3 separate regions of the Homo sapiens genome follow, and regions 1 and 2 are each linked to region 3. Evidence: promoter capture Hi-C in 16 types of primary human blood cells and fetal thymus (Javierre and others, 2016). All regions are on one chromosome and are shown on one strand. Each heading gives the region's core, a stretch centred on a gene start or on the middle of the fragment in contact. The rest is flanking DNA. Distances are from core to core; before and after follow the strand shown. Region 1 overlaps LOC124909485. Region 2 overlaps DNASE1L3 (deoxyribonuclease 1L3). Region 3 holds the start of ACOX2 (acyl-CoA oxidase 2).

Region 1 (3,694 bases), core at 481-2,980, 360 kb before region 3:
TCACTCTGTTGCCCAGGCTGGAGTGCAGTGGCAGGATCTCTGCTCACTGCAGCCTCCGCCTCCCAGGTTCAAGTGATTCTTCTGCCTCAGCTTCCCAAGTAGCTGGGACTACAGGCGTGCACCACCATGCCTGGCTAATTTTTGTCTTTTTAGTAGAGATGTGGTTTCGCCGTGTTGGCCAGGCTGGTCTTGAACTCCTGACCTCAAGTGATCCGCCCTGCCTTGGTCTTCCAAAGTGCTGTATTACAGGCGTCAACCACTGCGACTGGCCTGTTTCTCCTTTTTCTAGAAGAGCTTTTGATTGCTGAATGCTTACGAGGTACCTAGCACCCCTCCTCCGCCCCCACCTCCTCCTCCTCTGTCTCCGCCTCCTCCCCACCCCACAGCAGTGATACCGCTTTACAGATGGCACTACCACCTCAGGTGCTGCAATGACATGTTTGCAGATGCAAAGCTCACTTGGGGGAAGACCCTAGGCCCCTGCCTTCTTGACCCCAGGGTGCTAGCTCTACCCCCTGGTGATACCGCTGTGGAAACAGGAGTCCCCAGATAGGCCCCGGCAGGTGCCACGGTGATGGGAAATCACGGCTGGGCCCCCAGCCCTCCAGATGGGGGTTGGGGGTGGAGAGAAAAGCAGGGAAGGGAGACTGGATTCTTCTGACACCTGGCTGTCAATTGGGATCAATTGTTTGCCTCTGAGAGGAGGGAGGAAGAGAGTGGAGGAAAGGTCCTCTCCTCCCGGAGGGAGCAGCCTTATCTGTGGCCTGCACCAGGAAGCACTGCTTCCTGGACTCCTATCTGAGAAGGTCCGTGGGCTTCGGGATTCTGCAGTGGCGGGCAGTTCCCCCACTTGCCAAAGAGTCCATTCAGGCTCTGCCCGGTGGGGTCTGGCCGGGCCACAGTATCATGCTAGTTTGCCCACAGAGGAGCACAGGGCGCAGCCATTGGTCTCTCCACTGTGAAGCCTGGCGGCTTTCTGTTGGGGGAGGCAGCATTTGTAAATTAACAGCATGGGCTTTGGTGTCAGGCACCCCAGAGCTTCAACGCTGGCTCTGCCGTTCATTAGCTGTGTGGCCCTGGGGAAGTCGCCTTGCCTCACCTCTCTGGGTGGTCGTGAGGATCAAATAAGAGCCCACAGGGAGCTGTAAGGAACAATTCCCTGCCAGAGTCTCAGCCACTGCTGTCTGTGACCAACACCTGCTGGAAGTGATGTTCCTGGCAGAAGGCCGCCCCCTGGCTGCTTGTTGGCATCTGGGGCTACACTTGGTTGTCCCCTGCATGGGAGCGATGGTGATGTTACCCTGGGGTAAATTTCCCCACTAGAAGCCACTGCCTCCTGTTACATCAAAGACATCCCAGGGTGGGATGCACCTCTTTATCAGTCAATGGCTAGGACCACAGGGCAACCCTTACCTGCACCTGGGCTTGGCTGCTATGGAAACCAGCTGTTTGTGCAAATACCTTGAAAACTTTGAAACTTGACCCCGGACAGGCCTGGTGCCAGGTCCTTTCCGACTTTTGTGTTTTCTTTCCACCTTTCACTACTGACTTTGCCTCTTTCCTACCAGGAATGGACAGGGCCGATGGAGGTGAAGCGGACAGCAGCTGCACTGCCCTGTAGAGATTCCCAGGCCCTGCCCACTTCAAAGCACACAAGCCCACCTCTTCCTCATCACATTTCCCTTTGCAACCCAGGGAGGCACTCACCAGGATGCTGCCAAGAAGGAAACATTTTATTAACATGTTTCTTTGTTTCCGATGCACTTAAAACACTTGGGCCTCTTGACCAAGTCTAGTTTTAGGACTTCAAAGGGGCGTTGAAAGCCACATTTTGATGACTTTGGTGTAAAATGAGTAGGGCATATCGGGATTTAATTTCCCTTGAAAGTTGCACAGACTTAAAAATTAGCAGAATAGGCTAGCAGAATAGGCCGGATGCGGTGGCTCATATCTGTAATCCCAGCACTTTGGGAGGCCGAGGCAGGCGGATCACCTAAGGTCAACAGTTCCAGACCAGCCTGGCCAACATGGTGAAACCCCCTCTCTACTAAAGATAGAAAAATTAGCTGGGCGTTGTGGTGCAGCCTGTAATCTCACTACTCAGGAGGCTGAAGCAGGAGAGTTGCTTGAACCCGGGAGGCAGAAGCTGCAGTGAGCTGAGATCGTGCTACTGCACTCCATCTGGCCTAGGCAACAGAGTGAGATTCCATCTAAAAAAAAATAAAACAAATAGTAGAATAAAGGTTAAAGGCAAAATGAGTGCTTGATCCTTGTCAACCCGCCAAGTTTATATTAAAAATGGGGAGTGTTGCTGTTAACTGAAGTGCGCATTAGCCTCAGTTCTCAGCCCTATGGAAGTAGAGTCAAGGAAAGAGATGGAGTCTTTCCAAATCTCCATTAACTTGGAGGGGGAAGAGGCTGTATAATCTGTATATTTCACGAATGAAAACTCCCAGAAATTAGTATCTTATGCAGGTATTTTTTCCCTTTCACAGTAGTAAATCATAATTTGAGGAAGTAAAAATGTCACATTGGGGGCAGTAAGGGCTCAGGCAAGCCTGGATTCAGTTTATTTTTCTGGCTTTGTCCTAAGGATGCTGCCTAACGCATGGTGGGAGGAATCTTTCTAAACAAAGAGATCCTTCTCTGCTTCGTGATAAGGCTTTTGTCTGAGCCCCCAGGCCCACGGGGACCGGCTCATGGGCATGGAATTTAGGGAGACCTACTCCACAGCCCTCACACCCTTTTTCTCTCTTCCTCAAGAGCTCTCAAGAGCAGGCAGGAAATGGAGAATCTACGAGCCTGACTTGTGGCACGGATCCACATATCCAAGGGTGTTTTGTATTTTGGACTCGCTTATCTCCCCGGGACAAAGTACAAAGATGAAAGAATCTGCAAGCCTTTTGTTGCCCATGTTTCTCCCTCTGCCCTGACTGCCTTGCCAAGATACCAAAACACCTCTCCCTGTCGGGGGCTGCCCTCCCTTTCTAGGAAGTGGACGTGCTTAGGGCAAAGCTGGTGCTGAACCCCGGCAGGGTGTATTCAGAGGAGGAGAAAACCTCAGCAGAAGCACCAAGTCCTGGAAATGCCAGCTTCAGGCCCAGCTACAAGCAGCCTGCTCCATAGCAGCAGAATAACCTCGTGTAGCAGCAGCATTCAGAGAACAGCGGGTCACATGCTGCAGGTTCAAACCGGATTCCAAGCCCAGCGCTGCTGCTTACCAACCGAGATACCTCAGGCGGTCACCTTCTCTGTGCCTCACTGCTCTCATCTGTAAAATACGGAAATAATGGGAAACTTCCATTCTAAAATCAGATGAACTCCAGAAAGGCATCTCCCCCTGCCTCCCTCCCGCTCAGCACATCCACCCCGCAACTGGCCTGGGCAAACTTTCCTCAACCCAAAGCTGTTGAGAGAGGGACTGCCTGAGTGTTGCAGAGATTCGGCTCCCCAAGGCAGACTGGAAGGGGCACCCCAGCTAGGGAAAGGGAGGCTTATGGAGAAGCCATTAAGCGTGGTGGCTCTAAGGTTGGGCTGGGGATTCAAATCCTGGCCCTGCCATGACCTCTGGCAGGCAGGTCACTGATCCTTCACAGAAAACTGTGCCTCAGTTTTCTTTCCAATGAAATGGGGTAACAGGACCCACCCCATAGAGTGTTCTGAGAACTCACTGACAAAATATACGTAAAGAGCA
Region 2 (3,332 bases), core at 750-3,249, 350 kb before region 3:
AATCTGGGCCTCAGATCATGTGCCTTGGAATCAACCGGGGGACTTGTTGAAATTGCAGGTTCCTGGGCCCTGGCCCAGACTCTGGGAGACTGGGACCTGGGAATCACCATGGTAACTGGTTCCCTGGGATTCCAGTGCACACCAAGGTTTAGACTCTTTTTTGTTCGTTTGTTTTTTTTGTTTTGTTTTTGAGAAAAGGTCTTGCTCTGTTTCCCAAGCTGGAGTGCCATGGTACGATCACAGCTCACTGCAGCCTTGACTTTCCAGGCTCAAGTGATTCTCCTGCCTCAGCCTTCTGAGTAGCTGGGACTACAGGCATGCACCACCATGCACAGCTAATTTTTTTATTTTTTGTTCAGATGGGGTCTTGCTATGTTACCCAGGCTGGTCTCAAACTCCTGGGTTCAAGTGATCCTCCCATCTCAGCCTCTCAAAATGCTGGGATTACAGGCGTCAGCCACCGCACCCAGCCAAGCTTTAGACTCTTTGGACAAAGCCAAGGCTAAAAGGGTGCCTATGACCAGGGGACACCCATTTTCCCCAAAAGGCCACCAGAGTTCCTTGCCCAGGCCAGGCCAGGTGACCCAAAGGGACAGGAGGATGTTTGCAGCTCCATTAGGTTATGCGCAGTGAGACATGCCCTGCGCTGTGCCCTCTTGCCTGTCAGAATTTGGCCGGAATAAGAGCTGGCAGATGCCTGTGGCTCCAGTAACCTGCTCCTGGGCAGGAGTGGAGAGATGTCTTGTTGGGAGGAAGCTGCAGGGTGTCAGGACCAAGTCAGAGCCATGGACTGACTCATTTAGTGTCTGGTCCTCCTTCCCATTCCTCCCCCACCCAGCATGGAGTCTCAAGCCCCAGCAGCCAGGGTTCTTATCCCAGCCATGTGGGCTTTCGGAGCTTGCAGTACTTTGGGACAGAAGGATGAGCCTCTCTCTCCGGAATAAGCCCATTTATGACTTGCTTGACTTTTTTTTTTTTTTTTGACAGAGTCTCACTCTGTCGCCCAGGCTGGAGTACAGTGGCACGATCTCAGCTCACTGCAACCTCCACCTCCCGGGTTCAAGCAATTGTTGTGCCTCAGCCTCCCAGTAGCTGGGACTACAGGAGTGTACCAGCATGCCTGGCTAATGTTTTGTATTTTTAGTAGAGACAGGGTTTCGCCATGTTGCCCAGGCTGGCCTCCCAAAGTGCTAGGATTACAGGCATGAGCCACCTCGCCTGACCTTGTTTGACCATTTTGGACCTTGGAAACTGGTAAGTTTCCTGGGACTATGAGCTCTGGCTTAGGAGAAGGGTGACAGATGTGTTAGCAGCCTTGCCATCACTCACCCCTCACCAATTCCAGTGAGACCTTTGTCCAATGAGGTTAATTGGACATTTGAGGAAGATGGCTTCCCGTGCTTAACCAGGGCCCTTTTGATTTTATTCCCCCAGTCAGATGTTACATAATTTCAAGTGTCAGACTTAAGGTCTTTTTCTCCTACATCAAAAGTCACATCATCCCCAATATATTAAAGGAAAAAAGCGAAGAGTGGAACCATGCATATGGTGTGCTATATTTTGTATTTTTAAGGTTACATATAGTGCTCATTTCTGTGCAGACTCTCTGGAAAAACACATGAGCTGGGAAGAGGGGCTGTTTCTGAGACAGGAAACTCGGGGATGGGGTCAGGGCACGGCATTCCTTTTCCCTGCTTATTCTTCGGTACTGTTCACACATTTAGCCATGTTCGTGTATGACTTGAACAAAGAAACATCAGGGAAAACAAAGCAAAACAAACAAAAATGGGCACCTTGGATACAGGCTAAATGGTGCTGTGTTGTTGGACTCCAATGAGCCTCCTTGATTGCAGAAAGATAACAAAATCCTCGAGTCCCAGCCAGCCCACTAGGTGTTTGTCACACTGGGGCCCCAAAGACCTCCAACACTGACCTTGGTGACAAATATAATGTGGTGGATGTTGCAATAGAGGTAGGGCGCACATGAGGGCTGGGGGCACTTGGCCCGGGCTCTGGAATAGGGCAGGGCATGGGGGGGGCAGAGCCAAGGCCCCCAGGGAGGGAGAGCATGGGGTATGCAGGGCGGAGGACATCCTCCTGGAGCAGGGGTTCAGGGTGGGACCCTGGCAGAAGGTGGGGCTGGCGCAATAAGCCAGATAGCAGAGACCTTCATGGTGGCCAAGACTGAGCTCTCTCCCATGGTGATGGGAGCCGCTGAAGGATTTATGGGCAGAGGGTGGGACTGAGGGTGGGACTGAGGGTGGGCTGTGGTCAGATTAGTATTTCAGAGGATGACACTGATGCTTCCTGGGCTGGCTGAGTTGGAGGACAATTCGAAGGCAGAGAAACCAGGTGGGAGTGGCCTTTATCCCTCAACACTGTGAGACGTGATGGTGGCCTGACCTCAGAGAGGAGGGGGCAGACTCTTAAAACAGTTAATTGCCCAAATCACAGGGGCAGCTGGGGCCTTGGTGTTTCTGGTCATTGCGTGTGGAACAGGACCCCTCATGAGGACTGAAAGCTGACGCTCTTCCTCCCCCTGCAGCCTCTCGCATGACAGGGTTGAGCAGGGCCAGTGACAGTGGATGGGGCTCTGGCTCAGGGCATGAAGATCATCATTTTGGTCTACAAATGCCCCTGGTTCCCTTTTAGACAATTCAGGGGAGGTATGAGACCAAGAGAGATACAAAAGATTCTCCTTCCAATTTGGCTCAAGTCAGAATAAATTCAGGTCAAAAAATGAAAGCAGTTGGATCACTCTTGTTTCCTAAGTACAGGGAGCAGTTCATATCTGTTAGAGACATTTTATTTAGAGGCAAGAAATGGTTAATAAGATGAGACCCTTGGGTCTAGGAGCGTTTGCTCTTTGTTTTCTTCCTTAGAGTGACAGATTTTTTGCTGTTGGTGAAGGCCCTTGAAGACTGTAGTTTAAATTCAACTGGAAAGTGGTCGCTGACATCCAGGGCCTATAAGGAGAAAGGGGAGGTAGACATGGAAATTAGGAGATGCCTGGGAGATGCTTTCATTTTAGCGATGAGCAAATTTAGGACCAGGGAGGGGAGAGGAAATGCCCGAAGTCACCCCACAGAACACTTACTGGTAAGCGTCATTCCAAGACCAGCTCGATCAGAAATTTTGGAGGGGCCTCAAATCACAGAATCATAGGCATTGAGGGTCAAGGTCTAGTGCCCAATGTTGTGTCTTCAGTGGTGACCTCAAAGGGTGGCATCAACCCATCTTTTTTTTTTTTTTTTTTTGAGACAGGATCTCACTCTGTTGCCCAGCCTGGAGTGCAGTGGTGCGATCTTGGCTCACTGCAACCTCCGCTTCCT
Region 3 (3,709 bases), core at 603-3,102:
TGGTAGGCATGGTATGCAGCCATTGCTTGGTACATGTTTGTTCAATACTTGTTAGCCAAAATTGGACAGGGCCTGACCCCAAAGATTGGGCTCTATCCACTGCAGTTTGAGTTACATGAATTGCCTAGGGAAATCTTCACAAAAAAGTCAGTGAAGCTTACACCTGAAGAAAATAATCCTGGAGAGGTTGAGTGGCCCCTAGCCACACAGCTGGAGATGGCCAGGAGTTGGATGGGGTCTGACCACAAAGCACATGACTTGTCCATACTACAGCTCCACTGTGGAGGATTGCTGGGGGCACCTTGGTCTCATTAAACTGCTCATAAGTTCTAGGATCACTCAGCTCCATTTCTATGAGCCCTGCAGGTATATTGTGGAACTGAAGGGAGGAAGCCTTCTTCCTGCCTGTGAAGTGTTCCCCTGGAGCCCCTGAGTGTCTTTCATACCCAGGTTGGACCCTGTCTCCTTCATGGCAAGTGCTTGGCCTCTGAGAAGCCCCTATTCCTCCACAGTGAGGCAACCATGAGGTGCAGTCCATCCTATTTCACAAGTCTCTTGAGTCCATCTGCTCCTTGCTATCTCTTTGGCTAGCATCCAGGCCACTGTTATCTCTTACTTGGCCTCAGTGTTCCTCTTATTTGTTCTCCCAGCTGCCAGGTGAACTCTTGAACTGCAAATCACATTGTTTTCCTCTCCTGCTTGGAATCTGCTCCTTGGGGCCCACTGTTTGTGGAATGGAGTCCTTGCTGTGTCTACCCAACCCTACTCCACTCACCTCTCTCCTATGTCAACTTACTGCCCTCATCCCTGGCCTCCACTCATTCTCTTCCTACCCTTTGCCCCTGCTGTTCTCTCTGAACAAAGTTCAGCTCCCTCGTTCCCTGGGTGCTCTAGGGTTAGGGACAAGTTCTTATTTGCTTACATGTTCCTCCCACAAGGCCTGGGAGGCCAGCTCTGCATTTCCTAGCTTGCAGCAGGTATGTTGTAAATCTCTCCGGCAGGCTGCCATGCTTTTGATCCCCTTCCTTCCTGACCTCAACCTGACAGATGCACTGCTGTTATTACCATTTTATGGAGAGGATGTGGGCCTTGGAAAGGGAGGAGACTTTATAAGGGTCATGCAACCACATGTAGCAAATGATTCATATGAGGCTTTCAAACCAATACCCCCAGCAGGGCTGTGGGGGTGCTGGCAAGGGGCCCCATCCTCTGCCCCCCGGAGTCCTGCAAGTGCCCCTAGTGCGGCTCCTCTCGTCCTGCCTTACCTCTTTTCCTTGCTCTGCTGCCACTGCCTCCTTGCTGTTCTGAATGCTCCAGGCCTCCCTGCCACTGCCAGCATTTGCTAGGGCATCTCCATCTGCCCAGAACACCCTTTCTTCAAATGTCACTAGGGCTTTTTGCATTGAACCTCATTTAACCTTAAAGAGGCCACCCTCTTTAAAACCCCAAGCCCCCTCCCCCGGCATTCCCTGTCCTCCTCACTCTGCTCTCCTTTTTCTCTTTTCACTTATCCCCTTCTGACATTTGAGATCATTTACTCATTTCATATGTTTTTGTTTACTTCCATCTCCCTGCTACTAACACAGAAACTGCAAGAGGGCCGGGATCTTTGTCACTGTCATGCCGTGACCCTAACACTTAGTGCAGGGCCTGATTTGCAGGAGGTGCCCAGTGAAGAAAGCCTTGCTCAGGGTCTCTCGGAGCTGCGGACAGGGTCATCATGGGGGCAGCCCTCTCCTCTGGGGTCTCCCAGTCCCTCCCTGCCCAAAAACCTGGCTCACCTGGCTCCCCTCTGTCCTGTGTCCGCACTGTAGGCCGGGCTGGCCTCTCCCCGGCTGTAGGCCGCAGCCTCTGGCAGGCTTGTGGTCCTGCCCTTCTCTCCTCCCACATAGGGGCTGGAACACAGAAGCTGAGAGAAACTGCTTGGCCAGCTCTCAAGCCCTTGTCTGCTCTCAAGCCCTTGTCTGCTCTCAAGCCCTTGTCTGCTCTCAAGCCCTTGTCTGGGCTTATGGAGCTCCTCTCCTTCCTCCCTCTCTTCCTGCATGGGTGTGACCTTTGTGCCTGTCGCTGGGGCTGCCCTGGGAGGACTTCTGGGAGGTTGGAGCCCTTACATCTCAAAGCCAGGGATTCCTTTGACACTACTTGTACCAAAAAGCTGTGTACCCCAGCAGTGTTTCCAAAGTGATATCCTGGTCTTCCCTGATCTTTCACTGTGTGCCCTTCAGGCACTCAAGCTGTTAATATCACACGAGCTTAATAGGCTCCCCTGAGATGGTCCTCATGTGAAAGGATTGCTCTGTAAGGTGTACGTTTTTCCTCTCTCCCCATGTTTCTGCTCTAAAATATGGCTTGTCTTATGCTTAGCATCCCCTGACATTCCCTGGAAAAATATTTGTGAAGCATCCATCTGTAGTGTGTGGGATCCAGATGAGAGCTGGGTCTTAGTGAGAGGAATGAGAGGCTTAGAGGTTCCCTCCCTGCATAACCACCTTGGAAAGTCAGATGCGGCTCCCCATTTTGCAGGTAAGGAAACAGGCTCAGGGAGGGATGTCACTTTGTTTGGGTTTGCACAATAAGTAGATTACGTAACACATTTGTGTAAGACTGGGAAAGAAATCAAGGGGCCAGTAGGAGATCAAGGCTCCTGTTCTGGCAGGACTTCTGAGCTATGTTGACTCTGAGCAGGTGTACTCCTTTCTGGGCCTTGGCCTCCCCTGTAATGCAAGGTATTTGCTCAGTAAGGAGCCTCACAGCACCCCATCATATCCCCAAGGTAGTGTCTAGCTTGTGTCTGTAGGAAGAGGCAGGACCTGTGGCCCAAGCTTTGCAACTTATCACCTAGTAGGTCCTTCTGGAGCTGTGGGGCTCAGACTCCTGGCAGTCCTCATTGCTGTGGGCAGTGGTTTCAGGGAAGGTGGTCTTGGCCCCACTGTTTGGAGGTGAAAGTTCTTACTTACACCTGGACTCATCTCCGCCAAGGATTTATGCTATCACTGACCATGGGCAATGACTTAGTTCCTCTCTGCCATAGAGAAAGGCTTGGATTGCAGGAAGTGCCCAGTGAAGAAAGCCTTGCTCAGGGGCCCTTGGAGCAAGGCTTTTTAATAAACTCTCCATGTTTAAATTGTTTTCTCATCCGCTTTGAAGCTGACCCTGTTCTGTATGTTTTGGATGTGATCATTTTGATTTGTTGCACTGAAATCTTGAATTCTCTAGCTTAAAAAGGCTTTTTAAATTACAAAATATTTCAAACTTGTACAAAAGTGGAGAGAAAAATATAATGAACCTGCATGTACCTAACACCCAGCACTAACAATGATCACACTTGTCTCCTTGTTCTTTGTGTTTAACTTTTTATTTTGAAATAACTTTAGAATTTCAGAAAGCTGCAAAAAGTTCTTGTATATCCTTCACTCAGCTTCTTCTAAGGTACAATTATGAAACCAAGCCATTAACACTGCTGCAATATTGTCAGCTAATCTTCAGAACTTATTTGAGTGTGTCAGAGGTTCTCCAAGATCAACCTCAGGTCCAGTGATTTGCTAGGAAGACTCATAGAACTTAGAAACTGTTATACTGAGCCAGGCGTGATGGCTCACGCCTATAATTCCATTGCTTTGGGAGGTTGAGGCTTGAGGATCACTTGAGGCCAGGAGTTTGAGACCAGCCTGGACAACATAGCAAGACCCTGTCTCTACCAAAAAAGATG

Evidence for each region. The method cuts DNA at HindIII sites, captures the fragments that hold promoters and counts their contacts. A CHiCAGO score of 5 or more calls a contact.
Region 1: a fragment that was not itself captured here is called in contact with the fragment with the promoter of ACOX2 in region 3 in 6 of 17 cell types (neutrophils, total B cells, naive CD4 T cells and 3 more); the score reaches 10.2 in neutrophils.
Region 2: a fragment that was not itself captured here is called in contact with the fragment with the promoter of ACOX2 in region 3 in 7 of 17 cell types (activated CD4 T cells, non-activated CD4 T cells, total CD4 T cells and 4 more); the score reaches 6.9 in activated CD4 T cells.

Annotation. Positions count from the first base shown.
Region 1 is chr3:58,172,766-58,176,459 of GRCh38, forward strand. It overlaps LOC124909485, which reads left to right. Exons shown (of 6, transcript XM_047449435.1): 3 at 774-885. Among named protein-coding and RNA genes, the nearest start is that of FLNB-AS1, 4.0 kb to the left of the region's middle. The HindIII fragment of the contact is 7,073 bases long and covers 1-3,694 here.
Region 2 is chr3:58,189,838-58,193,169 of GRCh38, forward strand. DNASE1L3 (deoxyribonuclease 1L3) reads right to left here. Exons shown (of 8, transcript NM_004944.4): 8 at 2,420-2,966. The coding sequence ends at 2,850. Among named protein-coding and RNA genes, the nearest start is that of DNASE1L3, 19 kb to the right of the region's middle. The HindIII fragment of the contact is 3,053 bases long and covers 474-3,332 here.
Region 3 is chr3:58,535,338-58,539,046 of GRCh38, forward strand. It overlaps ACOX2 (acyl-CoA oxidase 2), which reads right to left and starts at 1,853. Exons shown (of 15, transcript NM_003500.4): 1 at 1,782-1,853. It overlaps LOC107984079 (a long non-coding RNA gene), which reads left to right and starts at 35. Exons shown (of 3, transcript XR_001740724.2): 1 at 35-977. The HindIII fragment of the contact is 2,666 bases long and covers 155-2,820 here.